Regions from separate parts of the Homo sapiens genome. Here regions 2, 3, 4, 5, 6 and 7 are each linked to region 1. The links are contacts of gene promoters, found by promoter capture Hi-C in blood cells and fetal thymus (Javierre and others, 2016). All regions are on one chromosome and are shown on one strand. Each heading gives the region's core, a stretch centred on a gene start or on the middle of the fragment in contact. The rest is flanking DNA. Distances are from core to core; before and after follow the strand shown.

Evidence for each region. The method cuts DNA at HindIII sites, captures the fragments that hold promoters and counts their contacts. A CHiCAGO score of 5 or more calls a contact.
Region 2: a fragment that was not itself captured here is called in contact with the fragment with the promoter of ATG5 in region 1 in 3 of 17 cell types (total CD4 T cells, activated CD4 T cells and non-activated CD4 T cells); the score reaches 6.0 in total CD4 T cells.
Region 3: a contact is called between a fragment that was not itself captured here and the fragment with the promoter of ATG5 in region 1, in 4 of 17 cell types (fetal thymus, total CD4 T cells, naive CD4 T cells and 1 more). The highest score is 5.9, in fetal thymus.
Region 4: a fragment that was not itself captured here is called in contact with the fragment with the promoter of ATG5 in region 1 in 1 of 17 cell types (M2 macrophages); the score reaches 5.1 in M2 macrophages.
Region 5: a fragment that was not itself captured here is called in contact with the fragment with the promoter of ATG5 in region 1 in 1 of 17 cell types (endothelial precursors); the score reaches 5.3 in endothelial precursors.
Region 6: a fragment that was not itself captured here is called in contact with the fragment with the promoter of ATG5 in region 1 in 1 of 17 cell types (endothelial precursors); the score reaches 7.8 in endothelial precursors.
Region 7: a contact is called between a fragment that was not itself captured here and the fragment with the promoter of ATG5 in region 1, in 2 of 17 cell types (neutrophils and total B cells). The highest score is 6.7, in neutrophils.

The regions. Positions count from the first base shown.
Region 1 is chr6:106,324,255-106,327,279 of GRCh38, forward strand. ATG5 (autophagy related 5) reads right to left here and starts at 1,506. Exons shown (of 8, transcript NM_004849.4): 1 at 1,272-1,506. RefSeq lists enhancers at 1,316-1,365, 1,386-1,705. The HindIII fragment of the contact is 6,577 bases long and covers 1-2,887 here.
Region 2 is chr6:105,398,941-105,401,965 of GRCh38, forward strand. All of the region lies in intron 1 of PREP (prolyl endopeptidase), which reads right to left. Among named protein-coding and RNA genes, the nearest start is that of PREP, 2.6 kb to the right of the region's middle. The HindIII fragment of the contact is 561 bases long and covers 1,290-1,850 here.
Region 3 is chr6:105,421,021-105,424,045 of GRCh38, forward strand. No RefSeq gene overlaps it. Among named protein-coding and RNA genes, the nearest start is that of PREP, 19 kb to the left of the region's middle. The HindIII fragment of the contact is 1,396 bases long and covers 724-2,119 here.
Region 4 is chr6:105,438,709-105,441,733 of GRCh38, forward strand. No RefSeq gene overlaps it. Among named protein-coding and RNA genes, the nearest start is that of PREP, 37 kb to the left of the region's middle. The HindIII fragment of the contact is 358 bases long and covers 1,397-1,754 here.
Region 5 is chr6:105,466,150-105,469,174 of GRCh38, forward strand. The region is part of intron 1 of LOC105377921 (a long non-coding RNA gene); the gene reads left to right. Among named protein-coding and RNA genes, the nearest start is that of PREP, 65 kb to the left of the region's middle. The HindIII fragment of the contact is 2,640 bases long and covers 167-2,806 here.
Region 6 is chr6:105,493,240-105,496,264 of GRCh38, forward strand. No RefSeq gene overlaps it. Among named protein-coding and RNA genes, the nearest start is that of PREP, 92 kb to the left of the region's middle. RefSeq lists an enhancer at 2,337-2,406. The HindIII fragment of the contact is 1,057 bases long and covers 1,002-2,058 here.
Region 7 is chr6:107,111,241-107,114,265 of GRCh38, forward strand. The region is part of intron 1 of BEND3 (BEN domain containing 3); the gene reads right to left. Among named protein-coding and RNA genes, the nearest start is that of BEND3, 2.8 kb to the right of the region's middle. RefSeq lists a silencer at 2,989-3,025. The HindIII fragment of the contact is 2,088 bases long and covers 379-2,466 here.

The DNA of each region.
Region 1 (3,025 bases), core at 256-2,755:
ACACCATAACAACTATTTATACAGCATTTAAGTTGTATTGCGCATTATAAATAATGCAGAGTTGAACTAAAGATAGGAGGATGTGCATAGGTTATCTGCAAACACTACACCATTTTATATCAGGGACTTGAGCATTTGAGGACTTTGGTATCCAAGGGAGGTCCTGGAACCAATCTCCCACAGATGCCGAGGGACAGGAAAGACTGTACCTTAATTTTTGTATCAATGTCTTCTCACCCCATCCCCAAAGTGGAACTTCATGATGGCAGGGATTTTTATTCTTTTGTTTACTATTTTGTTTACTGTTTTGTCCAGTGCCTAACACATAGGAGGTACTCAGTTTGGGGGAAATTAATGAAATAAATACACACTTGAGGTGTGTGCACTATTCTAAAAATCCATATCCATACAGTTCCATTCTGTACACTTTCCCCCAATTTTAAGTAGCATATCTTTGAAGATAAAAGCACAGGCTTAAATCTGGTGTAAAATACCTCTCAATTACTACCCTGAGCACAACATCGTTATTTTCAAATTCAAAATTCAACCAGAAACTCCCTCTATGGAAATCACAAATAGTTCAGTTCAGAGCCAAGTATCCAGTTTCAAGGTCTCAGAAATTTAACAAGCCAATTCTGGAAGGCTTTGGAAGTTCAGCTACTGTCTGGTAAGTCTCCGGGTTCTGATTGCTCAAGACAGGCTGTACCTCCTCACCCCTCAGAAAAATCTAGAACCAATAGTTTCCTAGGTTCCTCAAGTTCAGGATAATTTTAAAATAATCCAAAGTACAAATGAAGTATGTAAAAGTGTCTTGCCAACAGAAAATGTCTTTGGTAGCACTAAATATTGTTATTGAGACAGGGAATATCGTAAATAGATAAATTGCTTGGAGGACATACCCACCGAGTTTGGACAGACTCACACTGCACTGTGCAATAAAGGTTTAAATAACTGTGTTCCACAAACAATTCAGGTCCTGAACTGAACTCTAGAGCCTGCGACTAGACTCTCGCTTTCCTACCTTAGTAAGCAACAGACATGTACCCCAAGAGGGACCCCGCAGGCCACACCCGCCAACCGGCCCCAGGGCTCCGGGCCGGCGTCTCGCCAACTCCACCTTGCCCGGAGGAACCACCTTCACCCGCCATCGCGGCCGGGCGGGCGCTCCTCCAGGCAACTACTCACCCCTCCTTCCTACCACACCTACCTGGCCCCTCCCCAGCCCTCCTCCTCTAGGAATTTCCTCACACAAGGTGGACACACACACGTACCCTACTCCAAGCTATGGCTCCTCCTTCCGGCTCCCCGCACTGGTGGGGACGCCCAGATTCCGCGCTCCGGTGGGGCGGCGGGGCAAGCTGCCCGCCTGACACACTGTCCTGCGGGGACGCGGTAGCAGGACTCCAGGAAGCCCGCGCAGCCGCAAAAAGCACCGGCGCGGAGGTCGGAGCTGAACCCTGCTGCACTTCCGCCCTCTGGTATCCAGCGAATACAACCGGCAACGCTGCGGAGCCCTGGCAGCGCACCACAAGTCCAGTCACCCTCGGCGCCCGGAGATGACGTCACGAGACCCCACGTGGTCCGAACTCCGCCCTCCGTGTTCTGCCTAACCCAGCAAGGAGGCCCGAGTCGCTCTTGAGCATGCGCCAACGGGGCAGTACGCTTGAACTCGCGACCAAACCTCTCCAAGTTCATAGCTTCTACCCTCTTCTGAGAATCTTGCGTCAAAGCGTAGTTATTGGGGCTTGGGGAGGTTAACTTAACAGTTCCACAAAAACAGTTTTTAAAATACTGAAACACTGCCTCCCTAGAGCTTGATCGCAACATCCCTTTCTTCCTGGCATCACACAACAGTATTAATAAAACATTAGTTTTCAAAGTACTTTCCCATCCATTTTCTTATTTGATCTTCTTCTCTACTTTGTTGGAACCACCGCAGGCATTAATAACCTAATTTAACAGAAGACTATATGAGCACTGAACCCTCCCACCCATCCAAGAGTACATATCTTTATCTTACTCTTTGTAAAAATAATTGGGGCCGGGCGCGGTGGCTCACGCCTGTAATCCCAGCACCTTGGGAGGCCGAGGCGGGCGGATCACGAGGTCAGGAGATCGAGACCATCATGGCTAACACGGTGAAACCCCGTCTCTACTAAAAATACAAAAAAAATTAGCCGGGCGCGGTGGCGGGCTTCTGTAGTCCCAGCTACTGGAGAGTCTGAGGCAGGAGAATGGCGTGAACCCGGGAGGTGGAGCTTGCAGTGAGCCAAGATAGGGCCACCGCAGTCCCGCCTGGGCGAAAGAGCGAGACTCCGTCTCAAAAAAAAAATAGTAATAATTGGTAAACTTACTAATAAAGAATCTTTGAATTGGCTCTATCCAGAAGTCTTAGCAGGCATTTAAGGTTTTTCTCTTAATTACACGTGCCTTAACGCCATGCATGTTAAGTAAGTACTGTGCTGAGACTCAAAACAGGTTCTTGATAATTGGGAACATAAGGAAAATTCTAGTAGTAGCCACAGGATTCTTTTAAAAAGAAAAATCTTCTTGGAGTTGGACTAAGTACAATGATTTTCAAATGGTAAATTACAGTACATTAGTGGGTATCTAAATCAAGTTAGGGAAGCATGCCCAGCATCTTTTTAAATGAAATAAAATAGAAAATATCAGCATGCTTCACACATGTAAAGGGTAAATATTGTGTCCCAAAATTTTTACTTCAGTATGTATGTGGTGTACACTGGATAGGAATGTGAAATACATTTCTTAGTAAGGGTAGCAGTCAGAAAAGTTTGAAAGCCACAGTTATGGTCCTCTTCACCTACTCAATGCAGAAATCCTCACTACAGTGTCCCCAGTAAACAGCTATTAGCCTCTGTAAGAAAGCTTGTGGGATTAAGGTGCATTGCCTTCCCAGTGTCAGACAAAAGTATATAAAATTTCCTTTAAAATGTATCTAAAAAATAAGATGGATTTAGGGGCGCATAGATGGATAAATATGTGATTAACCAAATATAGTAAA
Region 2 (3,025 bases), core at 320-2,819, 930 kb before region 1:
CTACTCAAAATTTAAAAATTAGCCGGGCATGGTGGCAGGTGCTGTAATCCCAGCTACTCGGGAGGCTAAGGCAGGGGAGTCTCCTGAACCCAGGAGGCAGAGGTTGCAGTGAGCTGAGACAACGCCTATTGCACTCCAGCCCGGGCAACAGAGCAAGACTTCATCTCAGAAAAAAAAAAAGATTAACCCCATTAATGAAACCACACTGACAATGTCTTGCCAATCAAGTCTCTGAACCACTCCAACATTCTAGTTAAGGCTTCTTGTATAAAGCTGTTGGGAAGACTACCTCTATCTCAGATGAATTTTTTAATCTGTCTCCTTGCTTTGTTCTACAATGCCAGAAGGTAAGGGCTATTTCCTAAAGAAAACCTAGTGCTGCTCTAGTTCCAGTGTGGCTCTGGCTGGGTGAGAACAATCTCCTTGGCCCTTACAACACCGGGCTTTCCACATCTGTCCTTGTCTGATGCCAGGTCAAAGAACTCCTGGGGAAATGCACAACTGGATAAATGGGCAGGTAAGCCAGAACACTCTGTATATATTTTCATTAAACAACTGACTGAGCAAGGGACGTAAAAACAAGAGCAAGGAACATAAAACCCGACTAAAGCCTCTCCAGATGGGTCTTCATAAAGTTACCAATTTTCAATTCTGACCTCTCTAAATTTTAGCAGATTGTCACCACCGAACAACAGCTTTTCATCTTTTCTTCTCATCTGCAAGTCTTTTACGTTTTACACACCTTGAAGTGGTTATAAAATAGGCTTAAAATAACAATCTGCTTTTCCTAGCATTAAGAAATCAGAAAATTTTGAATTGTAAAGCATCTTTCAATCATGCACTTCTAGGAGCAACAGCAGGGATAAGGCTGGGTAACATGCCCAGAACCATATCAAGTTCAGAACCAGACCTGGGACTAAAGCAGTCAGCCCACCCTTTTCCCCAAACACTCATCAGAGGGGCCAGAATAGACACTTAAAAAATGTTCCTGGATTATGTTACTAAATTCAGGCATATCTAGAATTTTACACCAAGCAGCCCTATCTGCCCAGACCGGGCACCATCATCTACAGCAGATGGAAGTTATTGATCAGATATTTTTAACTAGGACAAGAAACATTCTCTCCAGGACAATTCCAGAGTTAATCCCAGGAGCCACAACTTTCCACCTCCAATTTTTTCTAAGACCATACCCTACAAATGAGGTGGATGTGTCTTATAGCCACTTCCCTTGAATCAAATTCTTCCACCTGATTTAAGTTTGCTAATCATTCTTGATCTCCTCAAGAAGCTTTAAAAATAGAGCCCTGATAAGGTACTGTACTACTTAATCCTGTTCGATATTTTACTTGTACTGTTCAACAACTCACCCACTGCCTTCAGGATAAAGTGCAGACTCGTACACACAGCAGGCAGGACCCATCAAACCTGCCCTGCTCATCTTTCCAGCCCCATGCAAATTTATCCATCTGTTGATGGTCTGGTCAGAATCGCCTTCTTGCCACCCTACAAACAAATGCAATTCCACAACAATCCAGGCCTGCATAGCTATGGCTTTACTTTAGTCACAGGATCAGGAATGTCCTTTGTCCCTTACCCAACTGGTCAACTTCCAGACTCAATTCACATAATGCCTCCCCCTCCTGATGGAAATTAGTCCCATCCTCTTCTGTGTTCTCCTCTCACCCTAAATCCTCTTCTATCAGAGTGTGAGTCCCCTGTGACAGGCCTGAATTTCCTGATAGCAACTCTCTTAAGCAATGGTCGATGGTATTGCACAAGAAGTGTCATGGCTTCCAAATTTCTGCCCAAAAAGGCAGAACTCCACCAAAATGGTCTCAACGCTCCAAAGCTTTCAGCAGGAGAGTACTGAGCATATGGCTGAAGGTGCTCAAGTGAAAGAGACAGAGAGCTACCGCAATGCCCAGCTGATGCTGGGGAGAAACAAACCCATCCTAGAAATCAAAGGCTACCATTTAAGCAAATACCTAAGTCAAGCCTAGGGCTTAGTAACCAAAACCTTAATGCAAAAAAAAAGATACTCCACCGTAAGCTATCAAGGAGCCACACAACAAGATCCAGACTGGGCCAGAGCTACATTCCCTTGGCCACGAGGCTTAGAGTTAGCATGAGTTGCTTAATGAGAAGGAACTGGAGTGTATTAAAATCCACAGTATACCCTTCCGAGTTGTTTATAATCTTTTAGACGTCTTCATAAAATCCTCACTTAAACCTTTCATGAAATATCAAACATAAATAAACAAACTGTAGGATTTAGGCACCCACAGTGGTGAAAAACTAACAAGTAACTCTAAAAACAAACTTAAAACTGCACTTATCAAACCACAGAATGGGTAATTCTTTATATTCTGATCCTCAAGAACCAGAACCAAGAGAGTCACCTGGCTTCCCATTACTAGTCTGGAACACTGCAGAGCTAGACTGTCACATGAATGAATGAATGAATGACAACATTCCTACTGCAGAAGCAAGTAAGCCCTATGGTCAGTCCAAATATTTCTCATATGAGAAAAAAGGCCCATAACAGGTAAAAGAGCTGCTAAAAGTCACCTAACTAGTGAATGACAGAACCAGAACTAGCGCTCTGGTCTTTTCATTTAGTCCAGCCTCTTTCTCCATTCCAGCAGGATCACTTTACTCCCATATTCAAAGGAAACAACCTTTAAACCACAGGAATAGAGCTTCTTGAGCTGTTAGGGTAAATTTAATAAGCAAGCAGCTGAGCAGACTGAGAAAACATGGTTACCAGATGGCCACTGGTCAAAGAAACCATGAATGAATGCATCAGTGTCACTTGGAAGTCTTAATTTAAAACAGTATGTCCTTTACTCCGAAGCGTCAGCACCCTTTACCCCAATGTAGCACGTGCTTTAAAGTAAACACTTTCTGGCATAAATTGGGAAAGTAAACAGAAAAACATTAAAACTGTATCACACAAATACATACTTATTCTGATTATATTTTAAGTAATCTGAGAAATGTAGCTATTAGTAAGAGAATCACG
Region 3 (3,025 bases), core at 172-2,671, 900 kb before region 1:
TTAGGAGATATACCTAATGTAAATAACGAGTTAATGGGTGCAGCACATCAACATGGCACATGTATACATATGTAACAAATCTGCACGTTGTGCACATGTACCCTAGAACTTAAAGTATAATTAAAAAAATAAAAGAAAAAGTACTTAATTTCACTAGGAATCAGGGAAATGCACATTTAAACCACAGTGTGGTATCATTACAGATCCACTAGATTAGAAACAATAATTCTGGGCCGGGCGTGGTGGCTACAGCTGTAATCCCAGCACTTTGGGAGGCTGAGGTGGGCAGATCAGGAGGTCAGAAGATCGAGACAATCCTGGCTAACACGGTGAACCCCGTCTCTACTAAAAATACAAAAAAGTAGCCAGGCATGGTGGCAGGCACCTGTAGTCCCAGCTACTCGGGAGGCTGAGGCAGGAGAATGGCGTGAACCCGGGAGGTGGAGTTTGCAGTGAGCGGAGATTGCACCACTGCAGTCCAGCCTCGGCAACAGAGCGAGACTCCGTCTCAAAAAAAAAAAAAAAAAAAAAAAAAAAAGATACAATAATTCCGAAAATACCAAGTATAGGGGAAGGATGTATAACAAGAGAGATTCTTCTCATGCACTTCTTGAAGGAATGTAGATTGGTAAAACCACATTGAAAAGCAGTTTTGCTTTGCCTAGTAAAGTTGAAGATTCATATATGTTACATCAGTAATCCCACTCAGGTATTTTTAAGAGAAGCTTATGGGCATGTGCACCAGGATATACATACAAGAATGTTTATGGCAGCATTTGTGCATAATAGCACCAAACTAGAAACCAAACTTATGTCCACCAATAGTAGATTGAATAAATTGTTGAGTATGTACACAATGGATTATATTATACACACTATTTTTAAATAATAACTACAGATGGTCTCCAACTTATGATGGTTTAACTTATCATTTTTTGACTTTACAATGGGTATATCTGGGTATTAAATGCATTTTTGGCTTACAATATTTTTGACTTATGACAGGTTTATCAGGAGATAACCTCATGGTAAGTTGAGGAACATCTGTATTGATATTTGCTTGACTTTAACAGAAGAAAAAGAAAAAGTAAAACTGATGGAATTGCTGAAACTTCAGATAGACTTTTCTTTAAAACTAGAGATGTTAGGCCAGGAGTGGTGGCTCATGTCTGTAATCCCAGCACTTTGGGAAGCTGAGGTGGGCAGATCACGAGGTCAAGAGATTGAGACCATCCTGGCCAACATGGTGAAAACCTGTCTCCACTAAAAATACAAAAATTAGCTGGTCGTGATGGCGCATGCCTGTAGTCCCAGCTACTTGGGAGGCTGAGGCAGGAGAATTGCTTGAACCTGGGAAGTGGAGGTTGCAGTGAGCTGAGATCGCACCACTGCAGTCCAGCCTGGCAACAGAGTGAGACTCCATCTCAAAAAAAAAAAAAAAAAAAAATCTAGAGATGTTAGTTCTCAAAAGAGCTCTTTGGAGGTAATATTATGAAAAGTAAACAGAACTGCATTTTCCTCTACTTTTTTAGGAGCATCAGTTTAATAAATAATAGTACATATAAAATCATAATGCTATAGTCTTTATGGAATGTTCTTATGTGTGTGCATGTGTGTGTTCTTACTTAAGTACAAGTTTAAACCTCAGACAGTATTTATTGATTTCTTATTTTCTGTCCACTCAGAAAGTCATGGTGGACATGGATTGTTTTAAATTCATGTTTAATTGATCTTGAATTTTCTGGCATAACCCTGGTATCAGAGATACAAGTGGTCTAAGACTACTCTGTGGGCCTGTTTTGTCAACTTATCTGTCATATAATGGAGGGGATGTTTTCTCTAGATACCCCGCTGAGCTGCTGACAATTCAAAGTTCCCTTTGGAGGTCTTGGGGACCAGAGGCTGGTCTCATTGGCCAGTTACATGTGGCAGAGGGAACGAGGGGCCCTCCTTGGAGGCAATAGGACACCCTTTAGGTTGGAGACAATACTTAAAGCCATGCTATGGGACCAAGATCCAAGAACCTGGTTAGGGTTTGAAACCTGCCAAATCTGAAAGTTCCAAAGGCAGACACCAAATTTAGGGTATGAGATCCAGAGTTTGGGGCCTGGAAAATCAAAGCTTTTGTGAATTGTGAACTGTAAAACAGAAAAGAGGGACTTGGAGAAGGTCCTGAGTAATTACTGCTCACAGAACTTAAAGCATTCACAATCTGCCATGACATGCTATTTAGGGACCAGCAAGAAAGCAAGGCACAGGTGGTTCTGCAGTAGTAAAAGCTTGAGGTGGATCACTAGTAAGCATGCTAACTGCCATGTAATGTAAGGAAATCTCCATTTTTATAGACAAAGTATTCCATAGCCTGCCAGTAGGAAAGCTCCTTTGACCCCTCACTGAGCGGTCACTCAGGTCTTCAGGATGTCTTTCTGCACACATTTCTTTCCAAGAGTTAGTGGAGTGAGGCTTCTGGGTTTATACTGGTGTCTTACAGTTGCAGTGTTTCTCAGCACTTGCCATCTACTGGCTTAAGGGACAGCAATTCTGAATGCCCCCTAGGACCTCTTTTTACAGCTTAGACTGGGCAATAAACTCAAAGAAAAAACTCACAGTAAAAATAGTTCACTTGTCCCCTTCTCTAACCCACATATGGAGACAAAACAAATTTCTCATAATATACCAACACTTTTAAAAGTGGAAGCCTAATGATTTGAATTCCAGTGGGTAAGGAAGGAAGCAATGTTTTTATGTCCTCTCCACCTTGGAACAGGGTGGGCTATTTCTCCATTTATGTGGGCTGGCAGCAGATGGGGAGGTAAGGGCTTCTCATGATCCACAGCACCACAGTGCCAGCCCCCTGTCAAGCCTATATCAAGAAGAGGTGTGCAGGAGAAAGCTGAGTGTTAGGATTTCACCTGGGCAGAAGAATCGGGGGTGCCAGTTGCAGATTCCCGAAAGAGTGACTGTGACTTGTTGTGGTCCTTTTCCTGTTCCTGGAGTCAGAAAAAAGGGACCAGCTGCTTACTGA
Region 4 (3,025 bases), core at 326-2,825, 890 kb before region 1:
ATGGGCCACCACACCGGGATAATTTTTGTATTTTTAGTGGAGACAGGGTTTCACCATGTTGGCCAGGCTGGTCTTGAACTCCTGACCTCAGGTGATCTCCCTGCCTCGGTCTCCCAAAGTGCTGGGATTACAGGTGTGAGCCACTGCACCCGGCTCCCTTTCTTTCATTCTAAATTAGATTCTGAATGGCTGAAACTGGAACAGGGCCAACACTGGTGACAATAGAATGGTGAGTACCAACGTCCTACTAACTCAAAGGGCCTTTGATTCCCTGAGAGTGGCCTGTAATTTTTTGGTTTTCTGCAGGGAAGCGGAGAGAATGGTGCCATCTTGCATCCCTGGGAACTTTGCCTAGTGGAAGAGTGAATGATATTCTGCTGAGGGAGATTTCCCCTATGACCGCCCTCTCCCTCAGTGAACACTTGTGTGATCACTGCTGTTGATCATAAAGAGAATCGAACTAATACAAAGGAAAAAACAGTCCCATAATATATTGTGAGCAAAACAAATTGCTGAATAAAGTACAATATCAACTTAGATTGCCTGGGACATTTCGTTGTTATTAGGATACAAAAAGACTCCCTTTTCAGAGGTAGCTTTCTAAAGACAGGTCTAAAATAATCTGCTAGGGCCCGCAGTCTGAACTTTGACAATTATGCAAAATAAAGGACAAAGAAGAGATTATCAATAATAATAATTTATCAATGGGAGTGTGTTCTCTGCCTTTCAATGGGTCTTGAACCCTTCAAATGGCACTATTGTCTCCTTAGATGGAGCTGACCAGGCAACCTTCCCGGGAATCTTTGTTGCCTTCCTTGAAAAACATTTAAAACAAACAAGCCCCTTTCTCTTCCCAGAGACAGTACAAGCGATATTAATGGTTATCTACCTGTGATAAGCACAACAGTCTCATTTTACCTGACTTGAAAGGGTCATCTGTACTGTCAAGCCCAATTAACTTGTCTTACTCTCACACAAGAAAGGAAGGTTACTGAAAGGCCACATCTTGCTTTATATCTTGGCTGCTCTGGTACAATGACCTGATCAAAGGCCATCAAAGCGTCAGTCCAATAAAGCCAGATCCTGCTTTTTTAGGACACGGACATAGCGCCACACATGGGAGCTTGCAGGTTCTTACTGAAAGGCTCAGAAGCCAAGATGGAATTTTATATAAATAGGGTCTCCCAGAGGTTGAGAGAGGCACTAGGCTACTTCCCAATTTTATAATGAGGTTATAAAAAATGTGATATATTTTAAATGTTCACTGTTAATGAATTAATGCTTTAAGTACATAATTAATGCAATATAATTGGGCTTTTCATAAAATAATTACATGACTTATAAAAAGTATTTAATTTAAAGTGCACTATAGGCAGGATGCCTGTAATGGGACAGAAGCTTATAACTGAATGATAAATATCTTCTGTCAATCATGCGTATGTATCTGTGAGACTCCCTTTGGGGAAAATCACCAAAAGCTCACATTTGAAGTCCTGGGTGAATGGGAAGCCTGAGTAAATTCCCAGTCAATGACTGAACTGTCACCCCTGAGATAAGTTCTATTTGCATGTTTCAAGCAGGTCACAAAACTCTTTACTTGTCTGTTCCACAGATCCTGTGTCAGTGCTACAAATCTATTGGATACTCAAATGTCTGTTGGTATACTTGGTTCTGTTCCACAGAATTCTAATGCTAGAAACAAACAAACAAACAAACAAAAAAACCTTATTTATTTCTTTTCCTGTTTCTAGGAAAGCTTGACTCGACATCATTGCCCTAGGTGCCTATCTACATGAGTGCCAGTGTGATTCTTGCTTCCTTTAATGGTTCATTTTGAGGTTTATAAGTACAATTTTTTGAAACAAAATTAAATGAGACTGGGATTATTTGATTTGGAAAGAAAGGAATTTGACAGGGTTCCCAGATGTTCCATATGGATGGGATTCTTCTGTTTTTAAAAGAACAACAACACACACACACACACTCACACACACTCACTTGCTGACATGCACTCACACATGTAGTATTTGTGCCCAGATTAGACACTACAGTGCATTACCGTTAACACAAATTTTGTCAAAATATGTACCAAATTCTGGCAAACCTAGCAAAGATGAACAGTGATAAACATCTTCAAGTATCTATACATCCTCTGGATAAAGTTTAAAACCAGATTTGTCTACATTTCTACTATGAATATAAAGGAATAAATAGATTTAAACTAGGTTAGACCAGGAATTGATTTTAGACAGGAGAACGGTTAAACTTCAGAATATATTGCCAAGAAAATTTGTGGAGGTGTATCCTCTGATGGGATGAAAATCTTAAAATCAAAACAAGGCAATTTCCTCTGATGTAAGTGATTTTTTTTTTTTTTTTTTTTTTTTTTGAGACAGAGCCTCAGTCCGTTGCCCAGTCTGGAGTGCAGTGGCACAATCTTGGCTCACTGAAACCTCCACCTCCTGGGTTCAAGCAATTCTCCTGCCTCAGTCTCCAGAGCAGCTGGGACCACAGGTGCCCACCACCATGCCCAGCTAATTTTTGTATTTTTTGTAGAGATGGGGTTTCACCATGTTGTCCAGGCTGATCTCAAACTCCTTAGCTCAAGTGATCCACCCTCCTTGGCCTCCCACAGTGCTGAAATTACAGGCCTGAGCCACTGCACCCGTACTGATGTAAGTGATTTGATTGTTTCTCTGATACAGAAGAGGAATAAATGAGGAAAAATCATTAAGTTCTTTTAGAATTTTTAAAGTATATTTATATTCTACAATTTTATAATTAAATTTAACTTTCTTGAAATATCTCTAATAACCTATTTTTTTGTGGGGAGAAGGGAGAGGGCCACTCCTTTCTGAAGATTCTCAACTCAACTGTATAGGCTGAGTCATGACTTGAATTTTAAAAATACGTTTGAATGTATTCGTTTTTTTTAAATCAGGTCAGAGTTTGAGTTCTGGTGTCCTGAGGCATTTTGGAAATGAAAGTTCAATACTTAGAAAAGAGGGAAAGCCAATAAAAGATA
Region 5 (3,025 bases), core at 237-2,736, 860 kb before region 1:
GAAGCCTCCATAGCCAAACTCACCCTTCATTAGGGACCCTTTTTCCGATGATATAACAGTTTTTGCTAATTTTTTGGTCAGTACGTAACTTAGGTACCCCCTGTTTTCCAGCCTCCAAGAGCAATTTCTTCACTGCCCTTACTGTCTTCACTAATAGTCTTCCTGAAGCTTTTCCAGCTTCTATCTGGTCCCAAAGTCAATGTCACTGATTTTAGGTTTTTGTTATCTCAGCACTGCACTTGTAGGAACCAAGTTCTATCACATTTGTCTATTGCTATGTTACAAGGATCCTCAAAACTTAATAGCTTAAAGCAATAGCAATGTATTATTTCTCACAGTTATGGGGGCTGACCAAGCTGTTCTTTTGACTCATATCGTATCGGCTAGGGCTGCAACCATCTGGGCTTAACTGAGCTAGTGTCTTGGCAGAGACAGATGTAAGGTTGGGTTCAGCTAGGAACTGGGGATGACGACATCTCTTCTCCATTAAGGTCTCTTCATATAGTGTCTCTACATGGTCCTGCCAGCATGGTAGCTGAATTTCTACATGGTAGCTTACGGTTCACTGAAGTGCAAATACAGAAGCTGCCAGTCCTGGATGGGGCACAGTGTTACTTCCACTGCACTCTATTGGTTAAAGTGAGTCACAGGTCAACCAGATTCAATATGAAAGGGGGTCTACAAAAGGGAATGAATACTGGGAGGTGTGTTTCATTGGGAGCTATCTTTGAAGAACAGATACCACCTCAGATGAGGTGGGTAAAGTAGAAGGGGGCAAAGGAGCTGAGAAAATATGAAGAGAGTGATTTTCATGATGAAGCATGGAATTTAAGCTGAGTAAGGGACACTTTTAAAAAGTTGGGGGAGGGTCATTGTAAAGGTGATGGAATCACTGGGTCCTCATGGAGTTGAAAAGATTTTTATTGAGATAGGAGAGAGAGTGAACTGGAAAGTTAGGAAGAACATGGGAAGTAGGATGCTTAAAACTGGATCATGCCATGAGCAGGCGGCCGGGAGGTGGGGAGGACTGGGAAGATTTTGGTCAAAGGGTACACAATTTCTGTTAGACGGGAGGAATAAATTCAAGAGATGTATTGTATAACATGGTGACTATAGTTAAATACAATGTGTTATATATATACTTGAAAAGTGCTGAGAGATTTTAAGTGTTCTCATCACAAATGATAGGGATGTGAGGTAATGCATATGTTAATTAGGTTGATTTAGCCATTCTGTAATGTATAGGTATTTAAAAACATCATGTTGTACACTATAAACCTATACAATTTTTATTTGTAATTAAAAAATTAAAATAATCAAATTGAATAGTTTTTTTTCTTTGGGGAAAAAAAGATTATGGAGGAGTTGTAGGTATTGATGATGCCAAAGTCTAAGGCAGGGGAACATCCCTGGCATCCCTTCAAGAGTGTATAAAAATTACCAGTGCCTGGGCTTCTTTCCAGACCAATGAAATCAGAATCTCTGTGGTGGGTCTGAATTGTTTTTTTTGTTTTTTTTTTTTAGCTTGCCAGGTGATTCTAGCATCCATCTAGGGCTGAGGAACAGTTATCGTAAGTAAGTCATTTATGAAATGCCTACCACAGTGTGTGCCAAGCACTACCGTGAATCCTTTTTACATCCCCTCACTTTGTATTCACTAAGTTCTGTGAGATACAACTATTCTTATCTCCATTTCACAGATGAGGAAACTGAGGCTTAGGGAGATTAATCAGGTCCACCTGACATCAAAGCCATATTCTTAACCACTACTATTTTCTAATTTCTTTTTTCCAATAAATGTGTGGATTTTGGGGCAAATCAAGGATATTTTTACAAATTCTTAGAAATGCACTTAATGTCTGCTCCTTAAGCAAGCGTTTCTGCATATTGATCATATATTATTATTTCTTTAGACAGATTTTGAATTATGACCAGCTGATGTCACTTTATTATTAGTTCAAACCTCATGGTATCTGAACCCAATTAGACAGAAGGGATGCCATGGGCATCCTCACAGTCCACGGGCTGTTAGAGGAAATCTGAAAACAATATTTTGTACTTCTCTATCTACCCTTTACTCATTTAGAGTAATCCATGCAAGGCATTTTTAGAAAGTAAAATTTGGAGAGAATTTTAGATCAGAAAAGTGAAAACTGTCAGGTGCTTAGGTAAGAATTAAATTTGACGCGGATAGTCAAATAGCGGACTCTTTGGAGAGTATAGTCACTCAAATCACAAGCCAGAAGTGTCATTTGATATTAAAATTTTCACTTAGAAAGACCAAGTATCTAAACGTTTTGACAGACAAGGAAGGACATTTCATCTTACAAGTGTCCCTCTGGTAATCTATTGCATACCCTTTTTTACTATTAAGACTTGGCTCTAATTCTCCTCCCTCTAAGAAACTTTTCTGATATGCCATACTCCACCTTGGCTACCCCCTCATGTTCTGTCCATTCATATTTATGCCAAAAATTGTTCTGATGCCAGTTAATCTATAGTTTGTATGTTTCTCCAATGAAACTACAAACTTCTTGAGGTCAGAGACCCTATATCCTTCTTCTTTTTTTTTTTAACTTTCACGCTGCAATGCCCGATATGCTGGGCATGTGGTTGATACTTGACTAATAAATAAGTGTTGGATGAATGAACTATTACTCAACTGGGGACCTTAGAAATATTCCTACTGAAGGTAGCACCAGGAAAGAACAGCTGGATTTTCACGCATGTAACTTTATTTAGCCGTGGCAATAACTCTGTGACAGTGGTGTTATTAATATTACCACTCAATAGAAGAAGAAACTGAAGCTTTGAGAAATTAAATAGTTTACCCAAGTTTAAGTGGCTGGAATTATCATGACTCAAATTCAGAGTTGTTTGTTTTTGCTGTCTCTACCACTTTGAGCTACTGCAGTGTTAGGGGCTTTTCTTTTCTAGCACAGGTGATGGTAAACCAACTCAAACTAGCTTGGCCTTAAAGAGGATTGTTATTGGAAGAGTCATAGAATAACGGGAAGGTCTGCAG
Region 6 (3,025 bases), core at 280-2,779, 830 kb before region 1:
AGCTCTGTTGATTATAGCTGTGTGGGGTTATCTTGGAAGAGGATGGAAAATAACCCAGAGCCAAGACTTGTTTTGGATGGCTAAAGTGAAGTCAAAAATAGATGAAGATCCACCCACATGTTAAGAAAATCCTTAAAGTCCTGACACCCAGCAAGGCTGTACTAAGCAGTTATCACCTACTTTTTGTTTTCTGCTTCATCAGCTCTCTAATCCTGCAAGTTTCATTATTAGGATTTCCTGCTATACTTTTAGTTTTCAGTTACAGATTGACTGGGGACTGCCAGTATGTCTGGCCTACTGATGTTTGCTGGTAGATTATCCTTGTAAGAGTTACTATTGTAAGGGAGCATTTTTTAAAAAGTAAGGAAGAGTGGCAATTCAAATAAATTCCACTGCCTCACTGCTTGCCATGGTCTGACAACTATGAATACAACAGAAAGGCTCTTTTGAAACAAACTTTCTTGTTAAAAAAAAAAAAATTTGCAAATGAAACAAAGAAGCCAACAAAACAAAACAAAGCAAAACAAAAAAACACAACACCCCATGGTTGAATTTACCAACCTGAAGAGTTCAGACGTTGCCCAAGTCAGGGACTGGTAATTGACATCCAGTTCAGGGGTTCATTTTCCCTTTTCTCAAGATTGAATGGAACTCTCTTTTTAAAGACTTATAATTTACTGTCTAAAATTGGAACGGTGACAAATTCAAAGCAGGGTAAAAGGAAGTCTCCAAAACAATAGCACTGAAATTATCCCAGAGCTTTTTCAATTGTGAGAATTTAGTGCACCTGAGTTGCTAGACTCACTATAGTGGCAGCATGCCTAAGTGGTATATTTTTTAATCTAAATCTAAGGAGGTGACCTCTTTTGGTAGAATGAACATTGATGGTTTTTTTTTTTCTATTTTGCTGAAAATATTCTACAATATCCCAGGGATTTTCAGGGAAAGCACGCTCTATTCATAAATGAAAATAAGAGCACATATTCCAGTCCTCAGTACAAAGCTTCAAGGACCATTGTTGAGCATTGGCTATTACCAAGTACTATGCTACATGCTTTATATACATTGATTCATTTGGTCTTCACAACAGTCTGCTAGGGGTAGGTACGACTATTACTTCTATTTTACAGAGACAGAAAGAGGGAGGTTAAGTAACTGGTTTAAAGTCATCTGGCTAGTGAGTGACAGAGTCAGGATTTGAACCCCGGTATTCTAACTCTATTGCCATACTCTTAACTACTTGGCAATACCACCTCCTAAAAAAAGTGAGTGGCCTAGCTTCAAGGACATTAGGTCCTGAAGGCCTAGTAGGAATTGAGTTTTGGTGCGAAGCCACTCAGCATGTTCGATTTTAGAAATGGAACCTAGTATTCTACTGTTGAATACGAGGCAGGCCAGGTAAGTTAGGTTTCACTGCATCCTAGCTATGCGGTTGATATTCTCAATTCTATTTAGTTTTATTCCCAATCTGTCTCTGAAAATGATCGAAGTACTTACATGCAAATATACATCCTTCCTTTAGGCCTCTACAGAACTCCAGTCTCATTTCGACTGCCTTCTAAATATCCCTACTTGCTTAAGCCTTCACGCATCTCAAATACCTACACTGAGCTTCCCAGTCCCACTTCAACAGCTCTGCATTCCAACTTCTCTGTCTCCATAGTGGTGTCATTCAGTCACCCACACTCTAAACTAGCTCAGGATCAGTTTTTACTCCCCTCTTTCCCGCACTGTTTCCTGCCTCAACCCCTGCCCCAAGCAAACATGCAGTTAGTCATTAAGTCCTGCTGATTCCCTTTGCCAAATCTGTTCTTTCCGATTCCTGCTGCAACAAATCAAATTTCTAAAACCATATTTTGGAATAAATTTCCCATGAGTTGGCCCACCTTTAGGCTTGCTGTCCTGAATATAGCCACCAGATTAAAGTTGAAATTCAATGCCTTTGACAGTGTTTTTGTTTTGTTTTGTTTTTGTTTTTTTTCCTGTGCTCTTTTGTGTGCCAGGCACTAAGTTGGAGACACATCACTGAATAAACAGACAAGACTCCTGCCTTAAGGAAGCTTGCTAAAGTGTCCAAAATGACTACATAACTTCCCTGGTTAAAGCCAACCAAAGCAGTAAAGTAATATTCAAAGATTCTCTATTTCCTCAATTTAATGGCAAAATCTTGGTTTGGAAATCAAGTTCCTCCACCATTTGGCCTCACTTTCCCTTTTCCCTTGCTCTTCATCAGCAGGTGCTCAGCCTTGCACCCAATACATTCTGTTTATTCTGTTTCCCAACACAGTGATTCTCTCACCTCCCTGCCTTGCCCTTGCTGTCCTTTCTGCTGGGAATAGCTCATCTTCACACTTCTCTACACAAATATTTCTGCTTTCCACCACCGTGGAGTTGTTTGCCTCCACCACGGGGCCAGATCAGGAGATACGCATGTCCCTTACTCACTTCACTGCTGTGGTCAGGTCTTGCCCGGATCTGGGGCAGGAGGGATTTAAATAGTATATAGCCTGACACTTTGTGGTAGAGAAAGTCCCTTTGTGACAATTTAGCCTGTTCACCCCCCTCAGCTCTTGCTTTGGTTCTGAGGCCCATCTTCACCCTCAGTTCTGGTACCTGAGCCTGTGCCTCATTTCTGTTTTCTGCGTCCCTCTTAGGGACCCCTTACCTCACACGTTGAACTCAGCATCCCCTTCATATAATCCTTCCCTTAAACTCCACCCCTATGACTGAGACCCCAAGGTCCCAAAACACTTTTGCAGATTCTAACAGCCTACCTGCCTCATTGAAAACTGGAATATTATGGTTCATTCATTCACCAACAATAAATGTTTACTGGAGCCTTCCTGTATGCCAGGGCCTGACCACATAACACATGGCAAGAACTATTCCCCATTCTCATGATGCTCACTCTCTCATTGGGGTAAGTGGTTAAATAAAGAAGCAAAGTAATTTTGGGGAGTGAGAAAGACTATGAGGAGAGTCAAACGGGCTACTGAGATGGAGGCAGGGACTGGCAGAAGCTGGT
Region 7 (3,025 bases), core at 173-2,672, 790 kb after region 1:
TGGCTCACGCCTGTAATCTCAGCACTTCGGGAGGCCGAGGTGGGCAGATCACCTAAGGTCAGGAGTTTGAGACCAGCCTGGCCAACATGGTGAAACCCCGTCTCTACTAAAAATACAAAAATTAGCCGGGTATGGTAGTGCATGCCTGTGATCCCAGTTACTCGGGAGGGTGAGGCAGGAGAATCACTTGAACCCAGGAGGCGTAGGATGCACTGAGCCGAGATTGTGCCACTGCATTCTAGCCTGGGTGACAGAGTGAGACTGCATCTCAGAAAAAAAAAAAGAGAGAGATAACACATACACATCCCTATAAACACCCCTAAAAAGATACAGAATAGGTTTCCCATTCCAAAGAGTAATTCTACAATTAATTCCCCAAGCTTACCTTAGCCAATGATGGGAACAATACAATTAGGTTAGCAACCAAAACCTATCACTTAACACCAAAATTAAGCACCAGGCCAGGCGCGATGGCTTACACCTGTAATCCTAACACTTTGGGAGGCTGAGGCCGGTGGATCACTTGAGGTCAGGAGTTCAAGACCAACCTGGCCAATAAGGTGAAACCCCATCTCTACTAAAAATACAAAAATTAGATGGGTGTGGTGCCACGCACCTGTAATCCCAGTTACTTGGGAGGCTGAGGCAGGAGAATCACTTGAACCCAGGAGATGGATGTTGCAGTGGGCCGAGATCGCGCCACTGCACTCCAGCCTGGGCACCAGAGTGAGACTCCGTTTCAAAAAAAAAAAAAAAAAAAAAAAAATTAAGCACCAGGAAAAAAACACTACATCCCAGCCTCCCATATACAAACACCAAATCATTTTTGCTGGTTGGCTAGCGACCTTCATACTCTATGCTTCTACATTATACAATTTGAGGTCTTTAAACTTTTCATCATGGTGTCAATACAATTCATATAAACATGCTGTTTTCCTTCTCATTGTTTCCAGGGACTTTCTAGGCAGCGCTAAAAAGTAGCAGGTGAGACATTAATATAGGATATTACATTTTCACCTAATCAAACCTGTGTCAGGGCTCACTCCAATTTTTCTCTTTGTAATTATTGGACATTCTGCTATGCTTCTGCTCACACAGGGGTGCTTAGGAGCCAAGAAAGAACCCACAGGGAGAGGATGTAAAGAAAATGTGTCAATATGGCACCTGTTAATAGATTGTTGGGATGCTGACTGTCTCATCTGCCAGTTCCTAACCAGCCTATCGTCTTGCTGGGCATGGAGAAGGTAGGCGGAATCACATAAAACTTTCCCATTATATTAGTTCTTCAGCAAGAAGATGGCATCTCTGGTATCAACAACAACAAAAAAAAACGCTGGGCGTGGTGGTACACGTCTGTAATCCCAGCACTTTGGGAGGCCGAAGCTGGCGAATGACCTGAGGTCGGGAGTTCGAGACCAGCCTGACCAACATGCAGAAATCCCCTCTCTACTAAAAATACAAAACTAGCCGGGCATGGTGGCGCGCGCCTATAATCCCAGTTACTTGGGAGGCTGAGGCAGGAGAATCACTTGAACCCAGGAGGCAGAGGTTGCGGTGAGCCAAGATCAGACCATTGCAATCCAGCCTGGGCAACAAGAGCAAAACTCTGTCTCAAGAAAAAAAAAAAAAAAAGAAAGGCTGGGCGCGGTGGCTCACGCCTGTAATCCCAACATTTTGGGAGGCCAAGGTGAGCGGATCATGAGGTCAGGAGATTGAGACCATCCTGGCTAACACGGTGAAAGCCCGTCTCTATTAAAAATACAAAAAATTAGCCGGGAGTGGTGGCACGCGCCTGTAGTCCCAGCTACTCGGGAGGCTGTGGCAGGAAAATCCCTTGAACCTGGGAGGCGGAAGTTGCAGCGAGAAGAGATCACGCCACTGCACTACAGCCTGGTGATAGAGCGAGACTCTGTCTAAAAAAAAAAAGCACGGTGGCTCATGCCTGTGATCCCAACACTTTGGGAGGCCAGGCAGGCAGATCACCTGAGGTCCGGAAACCAGCCTGGGCAACATGGTGAAACTCCGTCTCTACTACAAATACAAACATTAGCAAGGCATGGTGGCACATGGACTGTAATCCCAGCTACTCCGTGAGGCTGAGGCAGGAAAATCGCTTGAACCCGGGAGGCAGACGTTGCAGTGAGCAGAGATCAAGCCACTGCACTCCAGCCCGGGTGACAGAGCGAGACTCCGTCTCAAAAAAAAAAAAAAAACAAAAAAAAAACTCATGTTCCATGACAGGAGGTTGATGTGACAGATTTCAAGGGCCACACAGACACCAGCTAACCCAGCAGCAGCAACTGGCGCTCTGGCTCCATCTTTCCTCTAGAATCCAAGAGGCTCTCTCCATTCATTTAGGAAATACGCACTGAACGCCTACTAAGTTATGAGACACCGGGTTAGAGGCTGGGGATGTGAAACTGTGAGGGAGATAAAAAATCTTGCCCAAGTCCCAGTACCGAGGAAAGCTTGACAGGCTCTTGTATGGTAGTATAAAGCCAATATCTAGGGATGAATGGTTTAAAAAAAAAAGAGAGAAAAACGGACTGCAAGGGTGGAAGTGGGGAGCGGGTAACAAGAGAAAGTCCTCCATCCCAGCCGTTTATATACCTGGCTACCTGAAGGACTCAGTTCCTTACCTCAGTTTCCTGCAACCGTAGCTTTCTGGCACTATGCCACGCTGCCCTGTGGCATGTTTACTATTTGTATTCAACCATTCAAAAGTTACTTTAAGGAGATGAACTGCACATTTCCAACTCTAGTGAGTAACCTTGTTCCTCCCGGCACTCTTGTCGAGTTAGCGTTTACGTGCAGAATTCTTCCAGAAAGACCACCTGAGCAATCAATAAAACTTTTATCTCTGTAAAAACACCTTGTTTAAAATAGCTACATAGGGAGACGTAGGTAAACAAGCACACAAGGGCCTCCAAATCGGTGGTGCACAGCTCACGGATGAGGCAAGGGCAAAGCATGCGTGGGAAATCACGTTTATCATAGAGAAGGAAAGGAGCGCTCACGAGGAGCG